Linked DNA regions of Homo sapiens: regions 1, 3, 4, 5 and 6 are each linked to region 2. Evidence: promoter capture Hi-C in 16 types of primary human blood cells and fetal thymus (Javierre and others, 2016). All regions are on one chromosome and are shown on one strand. The core of a region is centred on a gene start or on the middle of the fragment in contact, and the rest is flanking DNA. Distances in the headings are between cores, read along the strand shown.

What was found. Contacts are between HindIII fragments. The CHiCAGO score rates a contact against its expected background, and 5 or more counts as called.
Region 1: a contact is called between a fragment that was not itself captured here and the fragment with the promoter of CREBL2 in region 2, in 4 of 17 cell types (non-activated CD4 T cells, total CD8 T cells, naive CD8 T cells and 1 more). The highest score is 6.2, in non-activated CD4 T cells.
Region 3: a fragment that was not itself captured here is called in contact with the fragment with the promoter of CREBL2 in region 2 in 15 of 17 cell types (total CD4 T cells, non-activated CD4 T cells, naive CD8 T cells and 12 more); the score reaches 13.9 in total CD4 T cells.
Region 4: a fragment that was not itself captured here is called in contact with the fragment with the promoter of CREBL2 in region 2 in 13 of 17 cell types (M1 macrophages, total CD8 T cells, naive CD8 T cells and 10 more); the score reaches 11.0 in M1 macrophages.
Region 5: a fragment that was not itself captured here is called in contact with the fragment with the promoter of CREBL2 in region 2 in 4 of 17 cell types (naive CD8 T cells, total CD8 T cells, activated CD4 T cells and 1 more); the score reaches 7.1 in naive CD8 T cells.
Region 6: a contact is called between a fragment that was not itself captured here and the fragment with the promoter of CREBL2 in region 2, in 2 of 17 cell types (total CD8 T cells and naive CD8 T cells). The highest score is 6.5, in total CD8 T cells.

The regions. Positions count from the first base shown.
Region 1 is chr12:12,454,180-12,456,879 of GRCh38, forward strand. All of the region lies in intron 3 of BORCS5 (BLOC-1 related complex subunit 5), which reads left to right. Among named protein-coding and RNA genes, the nearest start is that of BORCS5, 98 kb to the left of the region's middle. The HindIII fragment of the contact is 1,871 bases long and covers 443-2,313 here.
Region 2 is chr12:12,610,455-12,613,154 of GRCh38, forward strand. CREBL2 (cAMP responsive element binding protein like 2) reads left to right here and starts at 1,422. Exons shown (of 4, transcript NM_001310.4): 1 at 1,422-1,733. The coding sequence starts at 1,719. RefSeq lists enhancers at 791-1,542, 1,136-1,215, 1,266-1,315 and a silencer at 1,476-1,775. The HindIII fragment of the contact is 19,687 bases long and covers 1-2,700 here.
Region 3 is chr12:12,380,118-12,382,817 of GRCh38, forward strand. All of the region lies in intron 2 of BORCS5 (BLOC-1 related complex subunit 5), which reads left to right. Among named protein-coding and RNA genes, the nearest start is that of BORCS5, 24 kb to the left of the region's middle. RefSeq lists an enhancer at 1,078-1,372. The HindIII fragment of the contact is 7,704 bases long and covers 1-2,700 here.
Region 4 is chr12:12,400,308-12,403,007 of GRCh38, forward strand. All of the region lies in intron 2 of BORCS5 (BLOC-1 related complex subunit 5), which reads left to right. Among named protein-coding and RNA genes, the nearest start is that of BORCS5, 45 kb to the left of the region's middle. The HindIII fragment of the contact is 4,273 bases long and covers 1-2,700 here.
Region 5 is chr12:12,437,263-12,439,962 of GRCh38, forward strand. The region is part of intron 3 of BORCS5 (BLOC-1 related complex subunit 5); the gene reads left to right. Among named protein-coding and RNA genes, the nearest start is that of BORCS5, 82 kb to the left of the region's middle. RefSeq lists enhancers at 1,914-2,700, 2,393-2,687. The HindIII fragment of the contact is 3,287 bases long and covers 1-2,700 here.
Region 6 is chr12:12,744,005-12,746,704 of GRCh38, forward strand. It overlaps a transcript of APOLD1 not described here. Among named protein-coding and RNA genes, the nearest start is that of MIR613, 19 kb to the right of the region's middle. The HindIII fragment of the contact is 644 bases long and covers 974-1,617 here.

The DNA of each region.
Region 1 (2,700 bases), core at 128-2,627, 160 kb before region 2:
TCTCTTGGGAATACATGTGAAGTGAAATTGCTGGCTGTATAGTAACTTTATGTTTAACTTTTTGAGAAACGGCCAAACTGCTCTTCAAAATGACTGTCCCATTTTACATGCTTACCAGCAATGCACAGGGGTTCCAGTTTCTTCACACCCTCACTAACATTTGTCATTGTCTGCCTTTTAATTTGAGCCATCCCAGTGGGTGTGAAGTTGTATTCTTTCTGCTTTTGATTGCACTTTTCTAATGTCCAGTGATGTTGAACATCTTTTCCTGTGTTTACTGGCCATTTGTATATCTTCTTTGGATAAATGGCTTCAGTTATAATTCCAAGGCCAGATTTTGCCCTAGGGACAGTACTGATTTATATAGTTAGGCTGACTGCTTCCTAATTGGGAGAATTGGTAGTTCTGAATTTCAGAAACATCTGAGAAGGGTGGATATTGAAGCTTTATATAAAATATGTAGCAGTTTTCTTTTAATGTGATTATGATTTGGGAACTTTTTAGTTTTACTACCATGAAAAACAGAACTTCCAAGCATACTTTGCCATTCATTGTTAGAATAATATAAACATACATGTTTATAGCAGTGTTCTGTTTTCAGATCATCCTACATATATTATCTCATTATAACCATTACAACACTGCCGTGAGGTAGGATGAATATTAGCCATTATTATCCCCACTTTTAAAAAGTAGAAGCTGAGAGTCAGCTTGTGATTTGCCCAAGTTCACCAACTAGTAGAATTTAAATTCAGGCCTTCTGACTTACTTTGTTAATGGTAATGAATTATTAGTGATGTCAGGGATTTGAAGGGTGAGCTTACATTGCTAAAAATCAGCAATATGCCCATCTTCAAATAACAGATTGTTACTGACTTCAGAATGTATTATTTGAATAGCTGTAAAACAGGATGAATTGTTACTTTTCCATTTAGCCTCTTTAGCTACAAAGTACTTACAATAAAAGAGCAGAATTACATATCACTGCCTGCTCATTACATTTTGAACCCAGAAGGAAATCCACCCAAAGAAAGAACAAAGCTGGGAATGGATTTAGAACCCTAAAAAGAGGCAGCCTTTGGTTAGCTGACCTTGAACCATCCATCATGCCTCCTCCTCCCAGCCTCCATATTCCTAAACTGACATCCTTGGGGAACAGGAATTTAAATGTAGAACGAGTGCAGAGAAAGTGAGATATCTATTGAGATCAAATAAAAATTGACCTTGAGACTAACATTAACTGACAGACACCACATTAAAAGCTAAACATTACCTTTAAAGGGTGGGAAAGATGAGTGACTTTTTAAATGCCGTCTTGAGCTGGGCACAGTGGCTTACGTCTGTAATCCCAGTACTTTGGAAGGACGAGGAGGGCAGATCACCTGAGGTTAGGAGTTCGAGACCACCTGGCCTACATGGTGAAACGCTGTCTCTACTAAAAATATAAAAATTAGCCAGGCGTGGTGGCACACACCTGTAATCCCAGCTACTTGGGAGGCTGAGGCAGGAGAATTGCTTCAACCCAGGAGGTGGAGGTTGCAATGAGCTGAGATTGTGGCACTGCACTGCAGCATGGGCAACAGAGTGAGACTCGGTCTTAAAAAAAAAAAAAAAAGCAGTCTTGATTAAGTCCATATGCAGTCTTTTTTGTTTTTAACATTTCTTTTAAACTTAAGTATTTTGGGGATAGAAAAATAAGTCTATTGATCATATGGATGTGAATTTTGTTAACTGTGAAACACAGCTTACCTACTCATTTTTCTTTTGACCATGAGGGTTATTAAATTTGCTTTTGATCATTTCATGCATATCTACATCTTAAGTTTTTAGAATTTAAAAGTTGTACACTATCTTTATGAAGTTCTTACTGTTATGTTGCACATCTTTTCTAACTTAAAATAAGCCCTTGTAGTATGTCACTAATTTGGAAAATTTACCTTTACTTTGAAAAGAACTACATCAAGCATAGTGAGGCCAGGTGTGGTAGATCATGCCTGTAATCCCAACACTTTGGGAGGCTGAGCGGGTGGATGGCTTGGGCCAGGAGTTTGGAGATCAGCCAGGGCATCATCTTGAGACCCCATCTCCACAAAAAATAAAAATTAGCCAGGCATGGTGGCATGTGCCTGTAGTCTCAGCTACTCAGGAAGCTGAGATGGGAGGATTGCTCGGACCCAGGAGTTCAAGGCTCCCGTGAGCTATGATCAGGCCACTGTACTCCAGCCTGGGCAACAGAGCGAGACCCTGTCTCCAAATAACAAACCACAGTGACATCTTTCATAGGATGACCCATCTGCCTCAAACCAGCATCAAAGCTTATTTTATGAGGAAAATTTATATAACAAAAGTTTTTGAAGCACCGTACTCTCTTGTTGGAGAGGATATCATTTATTAAAGCTTTTGGTTTTGCTTTCAAAATATTTTTTGAAAAATATACATGTACGCATGTACGCCTATGTATTTTTATTTTTACCATATTGGATAGCATCAAACAGTGGTAATAGTTATTCTCATGGCTAAACATATAGATTAAAAACACATGGAAGGACTTGTAGGTAAATAATGATTTCAGTTATTACGTAGTGCGAAATGATTCTATCAGGAAACTGTGGGATGAGTAATGTGACTCTGCTGTAAGATTTTCAGTAGCAGAAGTACAGAACAAAAATAAAACATGTCAGCAAAAAACACAATGGTAAG
Region 2 (2,700 bases), core at 172-2,671:
CCCTAGCCCTTGGCAACCACTAATGGATTTTTTGGTCTATTTAGATGTGCCTGTTCCAGACACTTCATTATAAATGGAATCATACAATATGTGGCCTATTGTGTCTGGCTTTTTTCACTTCACATAAAGTTTTCAAGGTTCAGACATATTGAAGTGTGTATATCCCTTCATTTTTTTTCATTGCTGAATAATATTTCTTTCCTTTTTTTTTGAGACAGAGTCTTGCTCTGTTGCCCAGGCTGGAGTGCCGTGATCACAGCTCACTTCAGCCTCCAACTCCAGGGCTCAAACGATCCTCCCACCTGGGCCTCCCGAGTGGCTAGGACTACAAGCACCACCACCACACCCAAGTAATTTTTAAATTTTTTGTAACACACCCAACTAATTTTTAATTTTTTTTGTAGAGACTGCATCTTACTATATGGGTCTTCTTCCTTCTTCTTTCTTCTTCCTTCTTCTCCTTCTTCTTCCTTCATCGTTCTTCTTCCTTCTTTCATTCTTCTTCTTCTTTTTTTTTTTTTTAAATACAGTGTCTGGCTCTGTCGCCCAGGCTGGAGTGCAGTGGTACAATCTTGGCTTATTGCAGCCTCTGCCTCCCAGGCCCAAGTGATCCTCTCATGTCAGCCTCCCCAGTAACTGGGATTACAGGCATGTGCCACCACACTCGACTAATTTTTGTATTTTTTTGTAGAGACAGGTTTTGCTATGTTGCCCAGGCTGGTCTCGAACTCTTGGGCTAAAGCAATCCTCCCGCCTCGGCCTCCCAACGTGCTGGGATTACAGGCGTGACCCACCACCCCTGGCCAGTATTTCTTAATTTGTATAGTCCACACTGGTTTATCCATTCATCCAGTAAAGGACATTTGCGTTGTTTCCACTTTTTGACTATTATGAATAATGCTGCTAGGAAAGAACATTTATATACAAGTTTTTGTGTAGTCACTCGTTTTAATTTCTCTTGGGTATGGGAGTGGCCAATATTCTGAAGAACTGCCAAATTTCTTCCCAAAGTAGCTGCACTATTTTACATACTTAGTTTTTGTTTTTCGTTTTTTTTTAAATAAAGAACCTTTAGGGTTTCCTCAGCGTCCCAGAGGAGGGCCTGCTTCCGGCACCCCGCCTTCAGGGCTGCCTCCGCAGAGCACCAAACTCCCGTCCCCGCCATTCCAGGCCCTGGCACTTAGGAGCCAAAACCTCAGGTCAGGCGCACTTTGGGCCTCCAGCCCAGCCCCGCCTCCTCAGCGCTAGCTAGTAGGCAAAAGGAAAACAGCTGCCCCTTAATGAGGCTATGTGGACATCGTAGTTTTTTTTCCAGTCAGTAGCGCAGAGACTGTGATAAGAAAAATCACAATTCCCAGAATGCCGCGGTGCTACGGCAGCCGAAGGGGCCATTCCGTGTGCAGCGCTCCCGCCCACCCTCCGGTCTCGGCGGCTCTCCAGAGCGTCTGTAAACACCCAGAGACTGTCATGGAGGGGGAGGAGGAGGCGGCGGCGGCGAAGGGAGGCGTTTGGGGCCGCCTCCAGGGTCCGCTCTGCCATTCCTGAACTGGTCCCTCGTCCCCGTGACTCTGGCATCAGGGAAGCGAACTGTTAGGCGAGAGGAGGAGGCAGCCAGAACCATATCCCCTTCTTCCTCGGGGCGGGGGCCGGGCCAGGCCGGCTGAGCCGGGGGAGGGCTCCGGGAGGGAGTGCCTGGCCAGGCCGGCCTGTCTGCCGCGATGGATGACAGTAAGGTAAGTCTTGTGGTTTGCACGCGCCGCCGCCTTCTTGTCGCTCAATGCTAGTCCCGCGGCTGAACCTCCGCTATGTAGTCCACGCCAACACCCAAGAGACACCTGCCTAAAACATCCCTGCGCCTCTCCAGTCCACTGCCCGATGGTACCCAGCCAGGAAATCAGGGAACACCGGGGCTGCGTTTTTCCAGGAAGGGCCCTCTCTGGAAATTTTTCACTCCCAGGGCGTTTGCTAGCTTTCCAGGTAGTGCAACCCCTAGTCCTTAACTTGCCTGTCGAGATAAGAAACTACTGTACTTTTTCTTCTTGCACTTTTTTGCTGCCTCCTCTCTCCAGTTTGGAGACTTTAGTGCACGCTGAACCAGCCTTATTCCCCTTGACGATTCCCCTTCTCTCAGGCTCCCTTACTCAATGCCCCATTCATATAATCAGTTCACTCCCCCTCTGAGCTATTTCCTGTGGTTGGTTGGAACACCGCTAAGCTCCTGTTGCTATTTGGCCAGTGTGGAGTTTAACCTCCACTAGAAAGCCTTCTCTAAAAAAATACTGATTTTCCTCTTGTTAACTTTAATAGCCCATCACCATCCAATTTCCCTGTCCAAATCACTTACTTTATGATTATAAAATAATAGATAATGTTCATTATTGGTTAATCCAAATAGTTTATCTATGTATAGCCTTTTTGTCTTTATTTATTAATTGAGACGGAGTTTCGCTCTTGTCGCCCAGGCTGGAGTGCAATGGCGCGATCTCGGCTCACCACAACCTCCGCCTCCCGGGTTCAAGCGATTCTCCTGCCTCAGCCTCCCGAGCAGCTGGGATTACAGGCATGCACCACCATGCCCGGCTAATTTTGTATTTTTGGTAGAGATGGGGTTTCTCCATGTTGGTCAGGCTGGTCTCGAACTCCCAATCTTAGGTGTCCGCTCGCCTCGGCCTCCCAAAGTGCTGGGATTACAGGCGTGAG
Region 3 (2,700 bases), core at 16-2,515, 230 kb before region 2:
TTCTATGGGTGTGGTTTGTGGTGCCCAAAACAATTACAATAGTGACATCAAAGATCACTGATCACAGATCACCATGACAGATATCATAATAATGGAAGTTTGAAATATTGCAAGAATTACCAAAATGTGACAGACATGAAGTAAGCACCCTGCCACAAATCTTCAATTTGTAAAAAAAAACACAGTATCTGTGAAGCACAATTTAAAAAAAATTTGAAGTGGAATAGAATGAGGTGTGCCTATATATGGAAGATGGCTTGATCTAATCAGAGATAAAAAGAGATGAATGAGGACCATATCAAAATTATTTCCAGTTTGCAGTTAATTCTGCTCCCAGTCTCCAGTCCTAGGCAACCACAGGCCAGCTTTTCTGGACACTTCATCTAAATGGAATCATACAATACATACTCTTTTGAGTCTGACTTCCAGTTTTTGCCTGTTATGAATAATGCTGCTATGAACCTTTGTGACCATGTGTTCATGTGAATGTGTTTTTATTTCTTTTGGGTGGATTCTTAGGAACGGAATTGGTAGGTTGTATGGTAACTTTGTGTTTACTTTTACGAAACTGCCAAACTTTTTTCAAAATTACCATTTTACATTCCTTCCAGCAATGTATGAGAATTCAGTATTCTCTTTATTTCTGATTATAGCCATCAGAGTGGTTGTGTAGTGGTATCTCATTATGGTTTACATTTACATTTCTCTAATGATGTTGAGATTATTTTTGTGTGCTTGAAATACCTGTTCAAATCTCTTATCCATTTTTAAATTGGGTTTTTAACTTATATTGTATTATAACAAGTTCTTTATTCTGGATACAATCTCTTAATCAGATATATGATTTGCAGTATTTTCTCCCAGACTGTGACTTTCTTTTCATTTTTTGGGGGATTTTTTTTTTTTTTTTTTGAGACCGAGTCTCACTCTGTCGCCCAGGCTGGAGTGCACTGGCGCGATCTCAGCTCACTGCAAACTCCACCTCCTGGGTTCAAGCAGTTCTCCTGCCTTAGCCTCCCAGGTAGCTGGGATTACGGGTGCCTGGCTCATTTTTGTGTTTTTAGTAGAGACAGGCTTTCACCATGTTGGCCAGGCTGGTCTGGAACTTCTGACCTGGCTGATATTTTTTGAAGTACAACTTTTTTAATCTTGATGAAGTTCAGTGTATCAATATTTTTAATAAAGATTTCTCCTAGAAGTTTTATAGTTTTAGTGATTGCATTTAGGCCTGTGATCCTTTTTGGATTACTTTGTGTGTGTTGTGTAAAGGTCTAAGTTCATTTTGCTTTGTTTGTTTGCTTGTGGTATCCAGTTGACCCTGTACCATATGTTGAAAAGATTGTGTTTTCCCTTATTGAATTATCTCAGCACCTTTAAAAAATGACCATAAATGTAAGGGTTTATTTCTGGACTCTTAGGTCTGTTCCATTGATCTGTCCCATTTTTAATTTCGTGGATTGTACTTTGGTGTTGTATCTAAAAAGTCATCACCAAATCCATGCTTACCTAGATTTTCTCTTGTATTACTGCTTAGGACTTTCATAGTTTTGCATTTTACATTTAGGTCTGCGATCCATTTTGACTTAATTTTTGTGAAAGGTATAAACCATATGTGCTTTTAAAGACTATATAGTCTGCAGTCATTGGGTAGAGAGTTTTATATATGTCAGTTATGTTGGTTGATAGTGTTTTTTGAGTTTTGTATATTCTTACTGATTTTGTCTTTAGTTTTATCAATTGAGAGTGAGGTACTGAATTATTAACCTGTTTTGTTGAATTGTGTATTTTTCCTTTTGATTCTGTCAGTTTTTCCTTCATTTGTTTTGAGGATATGTTGCTGGTGTGGATACATTTAGAATTATTATATCTTCATGATGTAACAACTTTCATCATTATGAAACACCGTTCTCTAATATTACTCTCTGTCTTTATTTCTATTTTATCTAATATTAATAGAGCCATTTGTGTTAGTCCACTTTGAGTTGCTATAAAGGAATACCCGAGGCTGGGTAATTTATAAAGAAGAGAGGTTTATTTGGCTCACAGTTCTGCAAGCTGTATAAGAAGTGTGGCACCAGCATCTGCTTCTGGTAAGGACCTCAGAAAACTTTCAATCATGGAGGAAGGTGAAGGAGGAGCAGGCATGTCACATGGTAAGAGAGGGAGACAGAGGTGGGGGAGGTGCCACACTCCTTTAAACAACCAGTTCTCCCATAAACTAATAGAGGGAGACTTGCTCGGTACTACAGGGAGGCACCAAGCCATTCTTGAGGGATCTGCTCTTATGACTCATACATCTCCCACTAGACCCCACCTCCAACATTAGGGGCCACATTTTAACATGAGATTTGGAGGGGACAAGTATCCAAATGATATCACTATTCTGTCTTTCTTATGGTTCTATGATGGTATATATCTTTTTTTTTTTTTTTTTTGAGACAAAGTCTTGCTCGACAGGCTGCTGAAGTGCAGTGGCGCGATCTCAGTTTCCTGCAACCTCTGCCTCCTGGGTTCAAGTGATTTTCCTGCCTCAGCCTCCCAAGTAGCTGGGATTACAGGCGCGTGCCAGCATGCCTGTCTAATTTTTGTATTTTTAGTAGAGATAGGGTTTTGCCATGTTGGCCGGGCTGGTTTCGAACTCCTGACCTCAGATGATCCACCTGCCTCGGCCTCCCAGAGTGTTGGGATTACAGGTGTGAG
Region 4 (2,700 bases), core at 163-2,662, 210 kb before region 2:
CCTTGGTAACTCTTAGCAAGAGTTGAAATTACCTCGGTCAACCACATGACAAAAGAGTGGGCATGGGTTTTCCTGAATGTCTCCTGAGGTGACCAAGGGTGGAGTGGTGGTAGCATAATAAACCCCATGGGAAGTGGAGCCATAGATTCCATCAGCTTTGCAGAGGGGCCTTAGACCCAGCAGGGTTTAAGAAACTGCTGTGGATAGGATGCCTTGTCCTCCATAGAGATTATCAGCTGCTACCTAGAATTTCTTTTTCATTTGCAGTATGTCAGCATACAGAAAAAAAAAAAAAAATAGCAAACACCTGTGTATTCATCAAATTTGTCATATTTTAATATTTTGCCATGTTTGCTTCAGATCTCTTTCCCTGCAGGAAGAAAAATACACGTTTCAAATAAACAACGCCCCCTCCCCATCCTTTATATCCTTCCCTGATATTCCCTCCTCCTCCCACTCCACAGGGAATTATTGATCTGATTTTGGCATTCATCATGCCCATGTGTTTTCTTCGTGGCTTGTCTTTTTCCTACATGTTTTTGTATATCTAAGCGGTGTAGAATATTCTTTCACTTGTTTTGACTTTATATAAGTTGTGTTCTATATGTATCCTTCAGCTACTTGTGTAACTTTCTTTTTTCTTTTCCTTATAATTTTGAGATTTATCCATGTTGATATATGTCTCACTTATTTTCACTGCTGCGTAGTATTCCATCAAATGAATATTTCACAGTGTATCCATTGACTTATTAGTGAATATTTGAGTTGTTTCCAGTTGTTTTACTATTAAACAGTTTTGCAGTGGACATCTTTGTACATGTCTCCTTTTGCACATGTATGAGAGTTTTCTCTAGGGTATGTAACTAGGAACAAATTGCTGTCTAGTAGGGCACATGTATTTTCAGCTTTACTAGATACAGTCAATTTACTCTTCAAAGTAGTTATGCTCTTTTATCGCCTTACTAGCTATATATTAGAGTTCCTGTTGTTCCACATCCTCAGTAAAACCGGATATTGTCCCAGCTGTTCCTTGCTTATTGATTAATTTAAAGACAACATCGTGCTTAGCAACCATCTCAAACATAGGGTCAGATGCAAACTTAATTTTCTTATACCATGCTTCTTCCTTTTAAAAGAATTGTTTTGATTTCTGAGTTACAAATCCAAGATAACTATAACATAGCTTTTTTGCCATATTTATTTTTTTAATAATTTTTTTTCTGATCACGAAATGAATATATGATTATTTTAAGGAACTTGGAAAACAAAATGACAAAAAAGAAAATTAAAAATTCTACCTAGACATAGCCATTGTTAATAACTTGCTATATTTTTCCTTCTAGTGTAGACCTATGTAAAGTATACATTTACTTTATAATTAAAATTTGTCATTTTATATCACAATTTTACTTAAAATTCTATTGTGGCATTTCCCATGTCATTGGATATTGTTTGAAAACATCATCTAAGGCCAGGAGCGGTGGTTCACGCCTGTAATCCCAGCACTTTGGGAGGCCAAGGCGGGCGGATCACGAGGTCAGAAGATCGAGACCATCCTGGTTAACATGGTGAAACCCTGTCTCTACTAAAAAAAAAAAATACAAAAAAATTAGCTGGGCTTGGTGGTGGGCGCCTGTAGTCCCAGCTACTCAGGAGGCTGAGGCAGGAGAATGGCGTGAACCCGGGAGGCGGAGCTTGCAGTGAGCCAAGATGGCGCCACTGCACTTCAGCCTGGGCTACAGAGCGAGACTCCGTCTCAAAAAAAAAAAAAAAAAAAGTGTAAACAGCTGGATAACATTTCTTTTTGTAAATATAAATATAGTTTAATCATTCTCCCATTGGAGGACATTTTGGGTATTAAAATGATACTGGAGTACAAAATCTTGGTGCATAAATTTCATCTGAGTTTGTTTCTTTGGGATAGATTTCTAGAAGCCAGTAACTATTCATGGAATTAGATTGGATAGCTGATAAAAGCAGGGCATCAAGGGAGAAAAAAGAGTTGAGAGAGCAAAACAACATGCTTAAGGATCATGAGATTCGTGAATTCAGCTTCTGTCATATTTGAATTGAGTGGCAAATTTGTCTCTTACCTGAATTTGGAGACCCTTCTCTAATTAGGGATGATTATTAGAGGGAAATTCTGCCCTACTGTGGACACCAGAGAGTTGGTTGTGTGTTGTAGTGTTCAAGAGTTTTATCCAATATTCTGCTTCCTGCAGAGTTCCTGAATTGAGGGTCTTTTGTGGAATATCTCATTGAAGTAGACTTTTAACCTTGACTTGCTCAACATCTGATCAGAAGCAGCTCGTTGTCATATAAGGAAATCTGCTCTGTTATGGAACATCTTTGAGTAGTTGAGTTCCCCTTTTTCCCATAAGTCCAAATTTGATTCCCTGTCACCTTCAATTGTTCTTTAACTTGTTTTTAAACAAAAGTCTCCCTAAAAATAATTCCAGAAGTATTTGAACTTTATTTCTCTATTAGCTTCTACTGTAATTAACATGAAAACAAACATGTTTTAAAGTCTTTGTTTCCTTCTAAGGTATAATTTAGCTTTATCACGTCTTCATAGTGAAAGTTGTATACGTGAACGTTGGTAGGATAGAAAAACTTTCCACATAGTTTTATACTTGGTGCCCAGAAAACTTCCAAAGTGTTTAGGTACTACTCATTATTATTTCTTAGAAATTGAATAGA
Region 5 (2,700 bases), core at 80-2,579, 170 kb before region 2:
AAGCTCTCTTGCCTGCCGCCATGTAAGATGTGACTTTGCTCCTCATTCACTTTTAGCTGTGATTGTGATGCCTCCCCAGCCATGTGGAACTGTGAGTCAACTAAACCTCTTTCCTTTATAAATTACCCAGTCTTGGATATGTCTTTATTAGCAATGTGAGAACAGACTAATACATAAGTTTACCAAATGATACAATGCCACCCTCTATTACCCAGGATTTGGGAACCAGTGGTCTTAAGCACTATTTCTAAAATAAGTTCTACAAAACTAGTCCCATATAAAGAGGTCAAACGATTTGCATATTCCCTCACCACCCCTTGGAAAGTCACAAAGCGTATTATCTCACTTAAAGTTCTTAGGAGTCTCACAATAAAGAAAGCCAGACTTTTGAAACTTAGTTGACCTCAGAACACTTATCTTAGGTAACATTTATTAATGTCCCATAAAGTAGTGATTTTAGAACATTCTTTGGGAAATGCTATTGTAGACATAAGACTTTACCTTTTTAATTTTTTTAGAAACAGAGTCTTATGCTGTCACCGAGGCTGGAGTTTAGTGATAACATTCATAGCTCGTTGCAACCTCTAACTGCTGGGCAGAAGCGATTCTCCAACCTCAGCTTCCTGAGTAGCTTAGGACTACAGGTGTATGCCATCACGCCTGGCTATGTTGCCTAGGATGTTTTCAAACTCCTCAGCTCAAGCGATCCTCCCGCCTCTGCCTCCCAAAGCACTGGGATTACAGGTGTGAGCCACTGCCCCTAGCCAGACTCTACCATTTTTTACAGTTGTGCTAGAAGTTAATTAACTATGACATTAACTCTCAGAGAGGAGATCTTAGAATTATAATAAATTGGCTTTTTGATGCTTATTCTTTTTAAAAAGTCCTTTAAGTTCAAGACCAGCCTGGCCAACATGGTGAAACTCCATCTCTACTAAAAATACAAAAATTAGCCAGGTGTGATGGTGCATGCCTGTAGTCCCAGCTCCTCGGGAGGCTGAGGCACAAGAATCGCTTGAACCTGGGAGGTGGAGGTTACAGTGAGCCCAGATCATGTCACTGCACTCCAACCAGGGCGACAGAGCCAGATTTCATCTCAAAAAAAAAAAAAAAAAAAACGAAAAACAACAACAAAAACCTCTAATCCATATCTGTTGTTTTGCAGTTTAGTAAAGTGTGGTACGGAGAGATTAACTGACTAGCTCTATATCAGAGAGCTGGGGAAAGTGTTTTGTAGCTGGAAGTACCAGACAGAGCTTCTCATTATAGCACATTTTCAAGACTTCAGAGCAGTGTTTGTCAGCCCTGGTTACATGTTAAAATTACTCGGAAGTTTTTTCCTCCAATATATATGATGGGAAATTTTACACATATACTGAAGAAGACAGGGTAAAAGAAGGCGGAGTAACACAGTGAACCTTAATGTACTCATTACCAGCCACTACAATCATCAGCTTGCAAATACTCCTGTTTTATCCATATCCCCACTCCCTGCCACCCTCAACTGTATATTTTATAGTAAATCCCCAGACATTATTTCATTCATAAATATTTAAGTATATATCTTTAAAAGTGAAGGATTCTTTTAAAAAATAACTTTTAAATTTGAATTAATTTTAGACTTGGAGGAAAGTCACAGAAATAATTTGAGAGTACCTATATACCCTGCCCCATGCAGCTTCCCCTAAAGTTAACACTTTACATAACCTTCGTACAATGATCAAAACCAGGAAATTAGCTTGGTACAATACTAGCAATTAAATGGAGGCCTTATTTTGAATTTTACCAGTAATTCCACGAATGAATGACTGAGTCGTTTTGAAAGATGTAGTTATAATGCTGTTATACCTAAAATATTTAACAATGATACCTTAATTCATTCAGCATAGCTGAGGTGCTGTTAAGAAAATTCTGATGTCTGGGTCTCACTCCGAACCGATTAGATCAAAATCTTTGAAGGGTGATAGGGTTAGGGCGGTGGGATGTTGGGTATTGGTATTTATGAAGGTGCTCTAGGTGATTCTAGTATGTAACCAGGGGAGAACCAGTGTTTTGGAGCATTCATTTAAAAATAAACTGACTTTGGCGGGCGACATGGCTCATGCCTGTAATCCCAGCACTTTCGGAGGCCAAGGCAGGTGGATTGTTTGAGCCCAGGAGTTCAAGACCAGCCTGGGCAACATGGTGAAACCCCATCTCTACAAAAAAGACCAAGAAAAAAAACAAACAGGCATGGTGGTGCGTGCCTGTAGTCCCAGCTACTTGGGAGGTGAGAAGATGGTTTGAGCTCAGGAGGCAGAGGTTGCGGTGAGCCGAGATCTCCACTCCAGTCTGGGCTACAGAGCAAGACCCTGTCTCAAAAAATAAAATAAACAGTTTAAAATTCTGTTTGAAGAACTTTGGGATTCACTTTGAATAGTCAGTAATTACCCAGGATTATTGCAAAACAGAGACCAGCACTCACAGTACTGAGCAATACCTCAGCAGCGTGCTCGGGCAGAGGAGGTGAGTGCAGTTTTGGGGCTTTCATTGGTGGCGTAATGTGTCCGTCTTATCTCTGTTGGTGAGTGTTAGCAAACTCCTGAATCATATCCGTCCGTCTATGTTCACCTCAGACCTAAGGGTTGAAATTAGTCACTTCCAAATGAGTAAAGCAGAGGATGTCATTTTGATCAAACACCAACTCTCTGATATTATTCC
Region 6 (2,700 bases), core at 46-2,545, 130 kb after region 2:
ACAGTACTGCAAGATATTAAATTGATGATGGCTGGGCGTGGTGGCTCATGCCTGTAATCCCAACACTTTGGGAGGCTGAGGCTGGTGGATCACTTGAGGTCAGGAGTTTGAGACCAGCCTGGGGAACATAGCAAGACTGCGTTTCTACTAATAAAAAATTAGCAAGGAACGGTGTGCACCTGTAGTCCCAGCTACTCGGGAGGCTGAGGCAGGAGGATCACTTGAGCCTAGGAGATCAAGGCTGCAGTGAGCTATGATGGCACCACTGTACTCCAGCCTGGGCAATAGAGCCAGACCCTGCTTAAAAAAAAAAAAAAAAAATGGCTGGCTGTGGTGGCTCAGGTCTGTAATCCCAGCACTGTGGGCGGCTGAGGTGGGCAGATCACCTGAGGTCAGGAGTTCGAGACCAGCCTGGCTAACATGGTGAAACCCCATCTCTACTAAAATTACAAAAATTAACTGGGCCTGGTGGTGCACACCTGTAATCCCAGCTACTCAGGAGGCTGAGGCAGGAGAATCGCTTGAACCTGGGAGGCGGAGGTTGCAGTGAACAGAGATCGCACCACTGCACTCCATATCAAAAAACAAAGAACTGCTTGGTTTCTGATTTCTCAGCTCTCAACTCTAGGCAGGTGATTTATTTGTCCACTTAAGAGATGGGAATTGGACACTGCCGCTGGGATCAGTTCTGATCCTGACTATAAATTTCCGGGGTGCTCTGCCTTAGAACTTGGTTTATTGCCTATTAAGCTGCTTTCCTGTTGCCTGTGCTCAGTGTCTGTCTGGCTCCTGGCCTCCTCTTGCCAGGTGATTTGGCCTCATTCTGAACCTGTTTTATGTAGAGTGTCTGTCTGCCCGACTTCATGGGGCAGATCACAGAACAAGATCCCTGTGCCACGATCTGCTTTCCCTTCACCAAATATCACTATGAACTTGTGCCTACCTGGATCCCATACTTGCTTCACCCTGACAAAGCTTTTTCTTCTCTCTACTTCTGGCCTGCTTTGAATTTATTGTTTTATGCCTGTGTGTTAGAGGGAAAAATGTATTAAAATAATGTACTGGCAATACCTCCCTTCCTGTCTAAAAAAAGTGAATGCTTTGTGTACTCATCTCCCTAGAGGGCCTTTGTTGAATTAAGCAGGGTGATTGGCTGTGAGGAGAATTAAAAGGCAGAGAGAAGACCAAATTGCTCTACCCAACACAAAATGAGGAGATATTTGAAAGAGAATTTTACAAGGAGAAGACTGAAGAAGGCCGGGCGAGGTGGCACACGCCTGTAATCCCAGTACTTTGGGAAGTTGAGGCGGGTGGATCACCTGAGGTCAGGAGTTCGTGACCAGCCTGGCCACTAAACTCTACTAAAAATACAAAAACTAGCTGGGCCTGGTGGCAGGTGCTTGTAATCCTAGCTACTCTGGAGGCTGAGGCTGGAGAATCGGTTGAATCAGGGAGGTGGAAGTTGCGGTGGGCCAATATCGTGCCACTGCGCTCCAGCCTATGCAATAGAGCGAGACTGTCTCAGAAAAGAAAAGACTGAAGAGAAGAGGAAGGAGACATAAGTGAGCTGTACAATTTTTGAGCAAAGAAAGAAACCCAAAGAATATTTTAATGGAAAGCTTCCTATATTGCGTGTAGTGTAACATTCTCTTTGCCTCTCTAAGCATCCAGTACACGTTGAATTTGTGGTAGATTAGGTGTATTAAGTGCTGAGATTGGCCTCAAGGCAAGGGCAGGATGACTCAGAATAGCACAAATAGTTTCAGGTGGGAAGGGGGAGGAAAAAGGGAAGCAAAAGGCAAGGAAAATGCCAAGTGGTCTTGCCTACAGCAGATCTTTCAGCCCGCATGCTTGCTCTGTACTTGGAATTCTCTAGAAAGGTTGCAAGAAGAAGCTGCACTCCAGAGTAGTCTGAGAAAGGGATCAGGAAGAGGGCATTTATCTGCCAGCTCCCTCCTGTCTCCATTTTTTGTGGCTGAGGTTCACACTACTTAGCAGAGCTAAATCCCCTGAATGCCATGTGGTGTCATCTGGCAGCTCCGTGATCACTCAGGAAATTAATTTTACGCCTTGCAGTGTGGCTATTTCATCCGAGTCTGGAAGTGAGGAGTGACCAAGAGAGAACAAAAGGAAGGGTGGTGGGAATCCAAGAAGGCTTAAAACGTATGTCTCTGTAGTTGAGAAAAGGTTTTACTTAAATCCTGTTCCAGGCCGGGTGCAGTGGCTCACGCCTGTAATCCCAGCACTTCGGGAAGCCGAGGCGGGTGGGTCACCTGAGGTCAGGAGTTCGAGACCAACCTGGCCAACATGGTGAAACCCTGTCTCTACATAAAATACAAACATTAGCTGCGTGTGGTGGCAGATGCCTGTAATCCCAGCTACTCAGGAGGCTGAGGCAGGAGAATCGCTTGAACCTGGGAGACGGAGGTTGCAGTGAGCCGAGATCGCACCACTGCACTCCAGCCTGGGCAACAAGAGTGAAACTCCATCTCAAATAAATAAATAAATAAATACATAAATACATACATACATATTGCTCCAAATGGTGAACATGTGCATGACTACGTGTATGAACTCTGATGTCTTCATAAAGAATTTTAAAAAACTATTGGAAAACATGGGAAAACATGCTCTAATTTTTTTTAAATTTCATATTCAGGGAGGTACATGCACAGGTTGTACATGGGTATATTGCATGAT